2 separate regions of the Homo sapiens genome follow, and region 2 is linked to region 1. The links are contacts of gene promoters, found by promoter capture Hi-C in human tissues and cell types (Jung and others, 2019). All regions are on one chromosome and are shown on one strand. Each heading gives the region's core, a stretch centred on a gene start or on the middle of the fragment in contact. The rest is flanking DNA. Distances are from core to core; before and after follow the strand shown. Region 1 holds the start of PDCD6 (programmed cell death 6). Region 2 overlaps TPPP (tubulin polymerization promoting protein).

Region 1 (6,163 bases), core at 1-2,500:
CCCAAAGCTGGGCACTTCCCAATTCCGGGATTTGTGCTACAGGCACTCCAGGCTCCACCTTAGAACTGTGTCCAGCACGAAGGCAGTGCTGTCTTGCGGGAGGCAGGGCTGCACCACCACCGGGGTGTGAAGGGGCCCAGCAGGCAGGGGTGTGAAGGGGCCCAGCAGTGTTTCCAGCTGCACGGGGTCAGGGGCCGCGCTGATGCAGAGCACGGGGGCGCAGGTTAAACCTAAAGGAGGGAAGCTTTTGGGGGCGGAACAGACAACCGAGAATGCTGCACACTGCCTTTCCCACCCGAATTGTGTTTTGACTTTTTTTTTTTTTTTTTTTTGAGACAGAGTTTTGCACTTGTTGCCCAGGCCTGGAGTGCAATGGCCCGATCTCGGATCACTGCAACCTCCTCCTCCCGGTTTCAAGCAATTCTCCTGCCTCAGCCTCCCGAGTAGCTGGGATTACAGGTGTGCACCATCACGCCCGGTTAGTTTTGTATTTTTAGTAGATACGGGGTGTCTCCCAATTGGCCAAGGCTGGTCTCGAACTCCCGACTTCAGGTAATCCACTGGCCTTGGCCTCCCAAAGTGCTGGGATTACAGGCGTGAGCCACCGCGCCCGGCCTGCTTTTGCTTTCTTTTTTTTTTTTTTTTTTTTGGCAGAGTCTCGCTGTCCACCCCTGTAGTGCAGTGAGCTCGGCTCCCTGCGGCCTTGACCTCCCGGGCTCAGGCAATCCTCCCGCCTCAGCCCACGGAGTAGATGGGACCACAGGAGCCCACCACGCCCGACTACTTTTTGTAATTTTTGTAGGGATGGGGTCTATCCATGCTGCCCAGGCTGGTCCGAACTGCTGGGCTCAAGAGCTCCGCCCGCCTCCGCCTCCCAAAGGGCAGGGATCACAGGTGTGAGCTACCGCGCCCCGCCCAGAGTTTCCGACTGTTAGCAAATCACATTCACCTCAAAACTATTTATACAAGAACTGAAAGGCAAACTAAGTCCGTGCTCCATCACTTCCTGTCCCAGGTCGCGGGGCCGGACATTTTCTCCAAGCGCTTTCCTGGCACAGCGCGCAGGCGGCCTGCGCCAAAGCTCTGGCTTCCTCCAGGCGCCCAGACCCCGCCCTCCCCGCAGGCGCCAGGGCGTTGCCTGGCAACTTAGCTGCGAGGGGATTGGCTGCGCGGGACCCCGTGACCATCCCGGAGACCACGCATTTCCTGCGCCCCCGGAAGTGGTGATAATGCCAGGCCCTGCCCCCGGCAGAGGCGGAAGCGGAGTCGGCCTGAGAGGTCTCTCGTCGCTGCAGGCGCCTCAGCCCAGCCGCGTGCCTTGGCCCATGGCCGCCTACTCTTACCGCCCCGGCCCTGGGGCCGGCCCTGGGCCTGCTGCAGGCGCGGCGCTGCCGGACCAGAGCTTCCTGTGGAACGTTTTCCAGAGGTGCGGCCTGGCACCGCCCGGGCACCTCCCGCCTCCGCCGCGGCGGCCCCGACCCCTGTCCCGACTCCCCCGACCAACCCCGTTCCCTGCCGGTTCTACTGCGGCCTCCTCCGTCCCCTGTCGGGTCCCCCGCGGCCCCCTCCCGTCCCCTGCCGCCGCCCCCGACCCCTGCCCCAGCCGACGCGGCCGCCCCCGTCCCCTGGCGGGTCCCCCGCGGTCTCCCCCGTCCGCTGCCCGGTCTCCTGGGGCCGCCCCTGCCTCCTGCCCGGTCCCTGTCCTGTGCGTCGGGCCCTTCCCAAGATGCAGAGTGCGCCACTGCAGACCCGAGGTCGCGGCCACCGGCTCCTGGGCTAGGCCCTTTTTCTCGCCTCAAGAGCCGCCAGGTGGAGGGTCTCCAGGGTGCTTGTTTGGGGAAAGCGGAAACAGACTGCCTGGGCGCTGTTAAAATGTCAGCAGCCAAGGAAGAAGCAGCGACCTGGCGTCTGCTCGGGCCAGGTGACCTTTATGGCGGCGCCTTCTGTCCCTGGTCGCTTTTCCACCGAATGTCCGAAACTGTAGTGACTGATGGCCAGGGAATGGCTTAGTTATCTGAGGGAATCTTGTCTTGTCTGTGAAAAAGGGAAACGGGTGCAAATGGGAATTCAGACAGGCCAGGAGAGGAAGGAAGGGAAGGATTGAGGTGAAGATGATTGTCCTCTTAGGGGAAGACCACACTGGACGTCGGCTCCTGGGGCACTTCCTTGATTCCGCTGTACTCCTCAGCGGGACGGGAGAGGCGGAGGTTCCAGGAGGGAGCCTTCCAGAGTCGGTGCAGGGTTGACAGAAGACGTTTGTTTTGCTTTTCCTGAACTTTCGATCGCCAGCTTATTTGGTCTTCTTGATGTTATAGGGTCGATAAAGACAGGAGTGGAGTGATATCAGACACCGAGCTTCAGCAAGCTCTCTCCAACGGTGAGTGGGCCAGTGGGAACTGGGTCTCCGGACCAAGAAGCCGCGAGCCTGCCCTGTTCACAGTGGATAACTTTCTGAAGTTGTTTTTCCAAGGACAAAGGAATCATTAGGACAAATTGTTATTACTGCTTCGTAGTGGAGATGCTTCTGGTTTATTTTGTGGCTACCGCTGTTACTGCTTGGAGTGCCTCACCGAGCCAGCTAACAACTGCGTGCGTGAGCACAGGGAAAGGCTTCTTGAGAAATGAAAACTAGATTGTAGGTTTAGGAGGGGAATAGGAAGCTTAGCTCTGTACAGCCGAAAGCCTTTTGGTAAGTTGGAGGTCCTTGAATTTCCTGGGTGACTGCATCTTGGTGACTTCTCTGAATAGACCTTCGAGGGCACTGGGGGGTGATTGTTGGAGGGCTTGGGGAGCTCAGGCAGCCCTTGTATGGGAATGTGGCTGTTACAGGAACTGCAGAAACTGGGACTGGGTTCCTGGGGAAAGGATTGGGGGTGTTGGAGGCGCTGGCCAGGGGATTATGGGGAGGTGTTCTTATCAGTGTGCGAATACTGGGCGTTCAGGCAGCGGGAAATCCGGGTCCTTGCGTGTTGTGAGCTCCCTGGAATTACGTTCTTGCCAGTTTCAGCTCAGTTGATCCCCCTCCCCTCCGCTATCATTGGACACATTTTACTTCATTGAAACCTGACTGCCACTTTTTCTGTAATCCCTCAGGGGCAGTCATCTTTTCTGATTCTGTGTATAGTTTGCTTTTCCAGATCCGTGCCATTTAAGCTAGAAAAGGGGTCAGTTTTGAGATGTTGTGAAAATGTTGAAAGGCTTCTTGTTATTAGTGGGAAGTATCTGAAGTTGCCAGAGACTGAACTGGGGCGCGGGGAGCACTACGGCTGCTAGACACTGCCTCACTGCGCTGTGGGTGGGGGGGTGCTGGATTCAGCCTTACTGCCTAATGATTTGTGAGGATTTGTGTTTTCAGAGTAACATTTTTACCTTATATTACGACATCAGTTCCTAATATGTGGCGTGTGGGCCACAGATGCTGGTGTATTATTTCACATGCATTTCTATAGATTGTTTTCAGGGAATTCAGAAATGCTGTTATCTCTACACTAGTGATTGTGCTTTCTTGGTTTTTCTCTTTTCATTATTCTTAAATCCTCGTTTTTTTTTTTTTTATTTGCATCTCAGTTCGTTTTTACTCGGGAAGTGCAAGACGTGGCTACTAGAAAGAGATGTCAAGAGAACCCGGAATCCAGTAGGCTACAATTTGGCAAATCTCAGCTTAAAACTTCCTAAATGTTGACCACAGTGGATGCAAATGGCTCTGTGCATCACCTGTTAAATATGGTCAGATGACCATCCAGGTTCAAGTGGTTTGTCACCAGGGTGATACAAGCCACACGGAGTGCCCTCCTCAGAGGCCATGTTTCAGAGACATTTATTTTGAGTGGTTTTCCAATGAGTGATGCAAGATTTATGATCCATTTTAACAGCCTGCTTTTTATGCATTTGCTCTAATTTTTAGATTTTAGGTTTAGTTTTAGGTTTTCTGTTAAACTTGCTCAAATAGGAGTGGTGGTCAAATACTGGACCGCATTAGTATGGTAGCCTGCCCACCTTGGCAGGCTCCACTGGAGTGCTTTGGGGCCTGCCTGGATTCCAGTCCTGGCTCTACCAGTTTTGTGTCCTCGCCGTTACTGGGAGGGAGTATTGAGGAAATGCATGCGAGGTGTTTCCGTGATTCCTGGCACGGAGCAAGTGCTCAGTAATTGTCAGCTGTGAGTATTAGTAGTAGCTAATACACTGGTACTATTCTTGGCTAACAAGCCAGCTCAAAGCTTTGATGGTTTTCCATTACCTGATGATGGTGATGATGGTTTCCACTTACTCAACACTCACACGCTGGGCTAGGCACTTAACCCAAATCCAAGGTCAGCATTATTGTTTGGGGGTGGGGGAGACACCTCCTGCTCTGACTTGTGTGTTTGGGTTCCTGTATTTTCACCAGAGGGAGTTAGTCCTGCCCCAGTTCAGCTGGTCCTCAAAGTGTATATAGCTCTTTAACCATCAGCAAGTGTCTATCAGAACATAATCTTGATTTCAGCTGCTACTAAATATCTACCAGGAGACTGCTTGAGAGAATTGCCTGATGGGTGCTGAGTCCACCATTCCTGAGATACTTTGAAATCAGTGGCTTAACCCAAGCTGTGTATCGGGACCCTCTCACCGTGGTCCCAATGGAGTCACTTTTCTTAGGCGCCCCCCTTTACCTTGGGCTCTGAGCTTCCTCTGCCTTTCATCTCTGTGGGATGAAGCCCCACCGCCCTTCAGGATGCAAAGCCCTCTTCTCTAATGTGAGTGCAGGGCCAGGTGCAGTGGCTCACGCCTGACCTCCCAACACTTTGGGAGGCCGAGGCAGGGGGATCCCTTGAGCCCAGGAGTTTGAGACCAGCCTGGGCGACACTGTGAGACCCTGTTGCCTGAATTGCCCTGGGAGATTTCCTCAGCTTGTGCTGGGGGCATGTGGCCCCATGAAGCCCGTAGTCACTGTTCACCCTGAGAGACGCTGGCTTTCGGGCTCACACACCTGCTGCGGGGCAGCCCCAGGAAATGGCCACCCCATTTCTCCTGGAGCTGCGCGTGTTCTCAGAAACTGTGGTGGCCGTTCTGTTTTGTTTGCATCTTATAAACGTTTACCTGATGACATTTTCCTCTTCAATTTAGCTGCTAGAAAATTTAAAGTCAGGTTGGTGGCTCACCAGTAATGAGAGTTTAGAGTAGAAGTAAACTTTATGACATAGTCTTAGACTCTTCACTTTCTTCTCAACCAATATGATTCACATTTACTTTATTTTGCTGTACCGTGAGTGTCTCTGTGTTTCCTGAATTCCTTCTGGAATAAGGCAGGTTGTTAGTAAGCACAGGTTTCTGGTCCATCTCACAGCCTCAGGCAGTGGGCATTGCTGTCGGTGCTCCCTTTCCGGGTTACCTGTGGTAGCTCTCAAGTTGCAGGGCTGCGATTTGAAGCCTGATTTAGTACACCGTGTTTCTGTTGTGTTCTGTGGTGGTTTGCTCCTCACATGTGAGCATTCACCGTGGCCCTGTGTTTTTCCACCACACCTCTGCCTGGTGGCATCCTACTGGATGTCTCAGCCGAGCCACTCTGTTCTGAAGATGCCCTTGTCCTCCACCCCTTTGCTTTGGGCTCTAAGCTTCTTCTGCCTTTCATCTCTGTAGGATGAAGCCCCACCCGCCCTTCAGGATGCCAGCCTTGGCAACATTGTGAGACCCTGTTTCTACAAAAAGTAAATGAGTGTAGTGGTGCACGCCTGTATTCCCAGCTACTTGGGAGGCTGAGATGGGAAGATCACTTGAGCCTGGGAGGTTGAGGCTGCATTGAGCTGAGATCAAGCCACGGCACTCCAGCCTGGGAGACAGAGCGAAACCCCATCTCAAAAAAACAAAGAAAGTGGATGCGCGCTGCTCCTGCCATTGGATCATCGCAGCATTTTTCTTTTCTCTGATATGCACCTTTTTCCTCATCGTGGGGGCTCACGTTTTCATAGTTCCCTCTCACTACTAGGTTGTGAGCTGCGTGAAGGAAGGTTCATAGTTGTGTTGTATGTACAGGCACACAAAATTTGTCCTTGGATAAACACATATCCTCTTCCTTCTTCTCTCTGAATTTCTTTATTTTAAGAAAAAAATTAGAGATGGAGTCTCACTGTCTTGCTCAGGCTGGTCTCAAACTCCTAGGCTCAAGTGATCCTCCTGCCTCAGCCTA
Region 2 (6,438 bases), core at 2,487-4,986, 390 kb after region 1:
GTGTGTGCTAGCTGTGTGTGTGTGCTGTGTGTGCGCCTAGTGTGTGTGTGCTAGCTGTGTGTGTGCTAGCTGTGTGTGTGTGCTGTGTGTGCTAGCTGTGTGCGCTTGCTGTGTGTGCTCTGTGCGCGTGCACTTGCTCTGTGTACTAGCTGTGTGTGCATGCTAGCTGTGTGTGCGCTTGCTGTGTGTGTGCTAGCTGTGTGTGCATGCTTGCTGTGTGTGTGTGCTTGTGCGCTTGCTGTGTGTGTGTGCAGTTGCTGTGTGCTAGCTGTGTGTACGCTTGTGTGTGCGCTGTGTGTGCGCGCACGCACCCTGTGTGTGTGCTGTGTGTGCACGCGTTGTGTATGTGCACTTGCTATGTGTGTGCTTGTGTGCTAGCTGTGTGTGTCTGCTAGCTGTGTGTGTGTGTGCTTCTGTGTGTGTGTGTGTGTGCGTGTGGATTGTATCCCTGGGGAAATCAGAGGTGGGACTCTGCTGTCTCTTCCCCGAAGAGGACTTGCTAGGCTTCAGGCTGCCCTCTTGTGTCACCTCTCTGTCCAGTTGTGGTCCTAACAGGAAAATGTGTCATACCAAATTTATTTTCTGTAGGGTTGGGATGGGGTTAATTTGTCATCACGTAATTTATGTATGTAAGAGTATTAGAAGATGTTAATATTAATCCACTTTAAGCTTATAGATGCTTACCTCGTTTGGGTTTCATTGAGCTTCTTGGACCTGTGAGTTCATATTTTTCACCAGATTTGGCAAAGTTGCAGCCACTACTCATATTTCTTGTCTGACCCCGTCTCTCACTTCTTCCTCCCTGTCCCCATCTGGGACTCTAGTTAGCTTTCTGTTAGACTGTGATACTGTCTCTCAGGTCACTAAACGTGATGCTTTTTCATCCTTGTTCTCTCATCCTTTCCTTTAGGTGGTTTTATTGTCCTGTTGCGAGGCTTACTAATCTTTTCTTCCACTTGCCTAATTTGATGTTAAGCTTGTATAGTGAATTTTTTATATCAGAAATTAGGTATATTTTTGTTCTAAAATTCCATTTGAGGCTAGGCGGGGTGGCTCACACCGTAATCCCAGCACTTTGGGAGGCTGAGGCAGGAGGATCACTTGAGGCCAGGAGTTTGAGACCAGCCTGGCCAACATGGCGAAACTCCATCTCTGCTAAAAATGAAAATTAGCTGGGCATGGTGGTGGGCACCTGTAGTCCCAGCTTCTTGGGGGGCTGAGGCAGGAGAATCGTTTGAACCTGGGAGGCGGAGGTTGCAGTGAGCCAAGATTGCAGCACTGCACTCCAGCCTAGACGACAGAGCAAGACTCCGTCTCAAAAAAAAAACAAAAAAACTCCATTTGATTTTTTTCATTAGTTTTATATCCCATTATGTTCACGTTTCCATTAACTGCTTAACCATGTTTTTAACAGGTTTACTAGAAATTCCCAACTGTTCCAAAGTGGTGGTACCCGCAGGCCCGACTGCTAGTTGTGTATGACCACGTCTGCCGGTCCATGTTTTCAGCACCCATTGCCTGAAGTGTTAGCACCTTCACTCCGGTGGGTGTGGGGTAGTGGAGGGAGTGGGGTGGTGGAGGGCGCGGGGTGGCGGAGGGCGCGGGGTGGTGGAACGTGTGGGGTAGACCTCTTTCTGGTTTCATTGGCTTCTCCTTGTTCAGCACCTTCTCATGTGTCTGCGGCTCATTGGGATTTCCTGTTTGTAAAGTACCTATTCAAGTATTTTCCCTACTTTTCTATTGGATGGTCTGTCTCATTTATTTGCAGGTGTTATTTATGATTCTGGGTAGTAGTGCTTTGTGAATTACATTTGCAAATAGCTTTTCTTGTCTTTTTACTTCAATGGTGTCTTTTAAGAGAAATTTTAAACTTTAATATGGCCCAATGTATCAATATTTTCTTTTATGATTAAAGCATTTTGGATCCTAATTTTTAATAATCTTTACTTTGCCTTGATCATAAAGATACTCTGTTACCTTCCAAAGGATTTTATAGTTTTGTATATTTTGGATTTTAGATATAGATTCTACCCAGAATTGATTTTTGCGCCTGTTGTGAAGCTTAAGGATCCAGTTTCATTGTGTTGCAGACATAAGCCCAGTTTTCCCAGTCCCGGCTGCTGAAGATTCCTTTGTCAGGATGATCTCTGTGTCCGTTTCTGCATCTCCTTGTCTGTCTCTGCCAATACCACACACTCTGGGGCGCGTACCTCCATCTTATGTTAGGATGTCTTGGCTGTTTTTGACCCTTTGTGTTTCATACATTTTAGAACTAGCCGGTCGAGTTGGGATTTTGTTTGGGATTGTGTTGAACCTGTAGATCAACTTGGGAATCATTGACGTACTTGCAGTACTGGGTTTTACAAGCTCTGAACATGGTATCTGTCTCTCCAAATGTTAGGGCTCCTTCAGCGGGTGTTCATACAGCCTGATACTTTTCACAGTGGTCTTGTATGTCTTTTGTTACATTTAATCCTAGGTCCTTGTTATTTTGCGATGCTGTTTTTAAAAATGTGCTTGGATTTCATTTTCCTAATTATGTGTTGCCATTTCATGGAAATTCATTTTTGTGTATTAATTTGTATCCGGCAGTCTAGTAATTTTAATCATTTGCCTGTAGCTGTTTCCTCATTTTTAGGCACACAGTCATGTTTTCTATGAGTAATGGGTTTTCTTTCCCATTCCTGTTGTTCTGGATTTTTACTTTATGTTTTTATTTTTGTTTTGTTTTTTGCTTTTCTACACTGGTCGGAACCCCTAGTGCAGTGCTGATTAGAGGTGGTAACAGAGTGGGCATCGTTGTCTTCTTCCTGATATTCAAAGGGGTGATAAATTCTCACCATTTATCCACTCACTTGTAATGGATTTTTTTTGCTTGTTTTAAAGCTTCTTCTATCAATAATTCGCCTCAAGAATGGATGACTTTTATCACTTTTTCTGCAGTGATGGAGATGACCATGATTTTTATCATTTAATATATTGATGTGTTTAACGACCATAATTTGCTTTTGTTAAAAATAAACCTTGAATTTCTGAGATAAGTCCAACTTAATAATTATGGATTTTCTTTTACATACATATTGTTATATTTGGTTTGTTAATATTTTGTTTAGCATTTTGTGGCCCAGCTATACTACCTAGCACCTGTGTTTGGGCCCTGATTTCCTCGTCTGTACAATGGGGAAATAGTGGCTTCCTCACAGGATTGTTGTGAAGGTGAAATGAGTTAGTATGAATAAGACTCTCGGGCAGCATCTGGTGCGTCCTGAGCACTGGGTAGCTGCGTGCTCTAGTACAGTGGTTAGTATCTCTCTTCACGGGTGACAGCCACTTACGATTTTCCTTTGTAATGCTGTTCTTGAAAGGATTCGCATCTTTACACCACCGTAAAATGAGCTAGGTTGTGTATTCTTTCTCCATTCTCTAGGAGAATTTACTTAAGATTATAATTATTTCTTCCATGGATGTTTGATGGAACTTGCTGGTGAAGTCACTTGTGCCTGGAACTTTCTTTGTCAGGAGGTTTGACTACTGATCCAGTATAACTCAGTGTTCCAGGATGTGGCAGAACCGTTCACACAGACCATCCTTATGTCCCCCCTGCCTTTACGCTGCATATCCCTGAGTTGGGCTGGGGCCGTGTGACTACTGAGCAACAGCCTGTGTGTGGGACTGAGGTGAGTCATTTCAGGGCCAGAGCAGCGGGAGCTGGTGCGTCACTGTGATAGCTTCCCTGCCAGTGACCTGGGCAGCTGCATCACAGGATTAGGAAGTCTGTTTGTCTTCTGTTAGAAGAGATCTCTTGTTATTCCTGAAGTTGGACGTTGTGTGAGTAATACATTTTGTGTGTCCAGCCACTGAAGTGTTAGGGGTTTTCTTTTGTAGCTGGCAGTGACTTCCCCTAAGTCACAGGGCTGAGCAGGCTTTCCATTTCTTTTCGAGTTAGTTTTTGTAAGTTATGTGTCTCTAAGAATTGGTCCATATTGTCTTAATTTTCCATTTTGGGGGGTATAACACACATAATTTGAATGGCTTCAACATTTGAAGTTGTGTGTGTCCCTGTGGCAGAGATGTAGGGACAGTTGTGTCCCTTCAAGCGAGACCTTGCCATCCAGGGGCAGGGAGTACAGGGGTAGAGACCATCTCCAGCCACCATGCTGTCAGGCTGTGCCTGGGCTCTGGAGCTGAGGACACACTCATCCAGGCAGCTGCAGCCAGTGTCCAAGCAGGCAGGGCCTGGGCCTAATGCGAACCACAGGGAGCTCCCTAGCAGGTCATCTCCAGAGCCTCCCTGAGGCCTCCCGGCCTCCTCCCCTTGCTGCTGTTCAGGGGCATTCCTCACCAGTGAGCCTCTTGTGATACAAAGGCCACCTCAGCATCTGCCTCCCGGGGACTCAGCCCATTCTTGGCCATTCTTCATATTCGTTATTTGAACTTTCTCTTCAGTCCTTTCAAAGAAACACCCTTTGCCTCCATTTTCTTTTCAATTTCTGATCTGATCTATCATTAGCCATGCTGAAATTACAAATAAATATGGGTTAAAATATTATTTTATCAATTTCCCTGTTCTGTGTTTCTTTCTCTTGTTTTATCAGCAAAGCTGATTTTTTTTTTTTTTTTTTTTTTTTTTTTTTTTTTTTTTTTTGAGATGGAGTCTCGCTCTATTGCCCAGGCTGGAGTGCAGTGGCGTGATCTCGGCTCACTGCAAGCTCCGCCTCCCGGGTTCACGCCATTCTCCTGCCTCAGCCTCCCGAGTAGCTGGGACTACAGGCGCCCGCCACCACGCCTGGCTAATTTTTTGTATTTTTAGCAGAGACAGGGTTTCACTGTGTTAGCCAGGATGGTCTCAATCTCCTGACCTTGTGATCTGCCCGCCTCGGCCTCCCAAAGTGCTGGGACTACAGGTGTGAGCCACCGCGCCCGGCCTCAGCGAAGCTGATTGATCCACCATCTCATTAGTTTAAATCTGCCATCTCATTTTGTGCTGTTTGTTCTATTCATGGTTTTTTCCCTCTTCACTTTTGCCACTTTTGGATGATCTCCTGTCATCCCGCATGTCCCTCTGCTCGTTTGGAGACTGTACTCTGCTTCTGTCCCATGCTTATGGCATGTGTGCGTTTAGTCCATGCTCTCACCCACCTCTGGGGTTGGTTCCTGGAGCGCGAGGCGCGCGTCCCTCTCCATGCTCCTGTTCTGCTCACCTGTGGGGGTTCCCAAGTATTTTTATGAAACATTTTAATCTCACAAAGTATTGATATAGCCACTGTTAATTTGGAGTTATTGACCTATTTATTCTCTTTGCTCCACTTTCTTCACAAACCAGACATGCCATTTGAGATCACCTTTGCTTTCTGCATTTAGAATTTCTTTAAATGTCTGCTGGTGGCAAATTCTCTTTTCATTGTCCAAAAATGCCTTTATTGTATCCTCATTTTGGAAAACTGTTTCGCTGGGCTAGTATCTCAGGTTGGCATTTTTTTTATAGCAGCCTGTGATGACATTGTCCTGTTTTGGGGGCTCTGGTGGTGTTCACAGTGTTCATGTCCATTCCCCTTGAATCTAGACCCCACCCAGGGCTACACCAGTGCTAGAGCAGGACTCACACCTGACAGATGGCTGGTCCGCCTGCTCCTCCTTCACGGTCCTCCTGTCTAGATGAGGAAGCGAGAGACTCCCTCGGGAAAAGGCGACACAAGGGCCTTGGCCCTGTGAGCTTCAGCCCAGTGGAGGCACTCAGCACACTCCCCACCTGGGGCCCCTCCAGTACCTATCCCCTGTTATCACCTGTTACAGACACGTGTGCTCTGAGGAACAGAGAAATCCATGTTTTAACACCTTTATTTGTCACTTTACCAACTTGACACACAATGTTAACGACAGCAGACACAGGAGCAGTGTGCACACAGACACGAGCTGTTTCACTACAGGTTTGCAAGCCAGGCTCAACAGCAAGTCCAACAGGCAACACCACACCTCTCACCTGCAGGAGGAACAGCAGGGCCACCCCACCCCGCGGACGTCCGCGGTGAGTGCGGTTTAGACATCAGCAGAAGTGGCTTTCAGAGTCAGAACAGCCATGACGTGGACATCACCCGTCACACTGATAAAGTGATGCACTCAGTACTCCCTAATGTTAATCACACAGTGTAAAAATATATTGCACATATATATATATATATATATATATAAATTTGTTTCCCTTTCTTGAAAAAAACTTAGTACAAACTAGTAGTTACACGATCCCTTTCAAGTTTCTCTTAAGTTGTGCAGATTTCCTTTGTGGTTTGGCTTGGTTTAGTTTTTTAAGAGGTCGAAAGAAAGAAGTAAAGCATCTCGATGTGCCCAGGACTCCCCATCACATGCCCAGGGACAAACGCTGCACCCTGGACCACCAGAGCTCACAAAGTGTTCAGTAGTAAGAGGAGGAAAGATGCAGGT

What was found. Contacts are between HindIII fragments. The study calls those that stand out against the background at their distance.
Region 2: a contact is called between a fragment that was not itself captured here and the fragment with the promoter of PDCD6 in region 1, in 4 of the 25 tissues and cell types used here (dorsolateral prefrontal cortex, lymphoblastoid cells, mesenchymal stem cells and 1 more).

What each region holds. Positions count from the first base shown.
Region 1 is chr5:270,396-276,558 of GRCh38, forward strand. It overlaps PDCD6 (programmed cell death 6), which reads left to right and starts at 1,251. Exons shown (of 6, transcript NM_013232.4): 1 at 1,251-1,426; 2 at 2,316-2,377. The coding sequence starts at 1,326. PDCD6-DT (PDCD6 divergent transcript) reads right to left here and starts at 1,129. Exons shown (of 2, transcript NR_104613.1): 1 at 950-1,129. It overlaps PDCD6-AHRR (PDCD6-AHRR readthrough (NMD candidate)), which reads left to right and starts at 1,251. Exons shown (of 13, transcript NR_165163.2): 1 at 1,251-1,426; 2 at 2,316-2,377. RefSeq lists enhancers at 1-292, 954-1,043 and a silencer at 1,334-1,543. The HindIII fragment of the contact is 6,729 bases long and covers 1-3,438 here.
Region 2 is chr5:654,042-660,479 of GRCh38, forward strand. It overlaps TPPP (tubulin polymerization promoting protein), which reads right to left. Exons shown (of 4, transcript NM_007030.3): 4 at 5,821-6,438. It also overlaps a transcript of CEP72 not described here. Among named protein-coding and RNA genes, the nearest start is that of TPPP, 36 kb to the right of the region's middle. The HindIII fragment of the contact is 7,661 bases long and covers 1-6,438 here.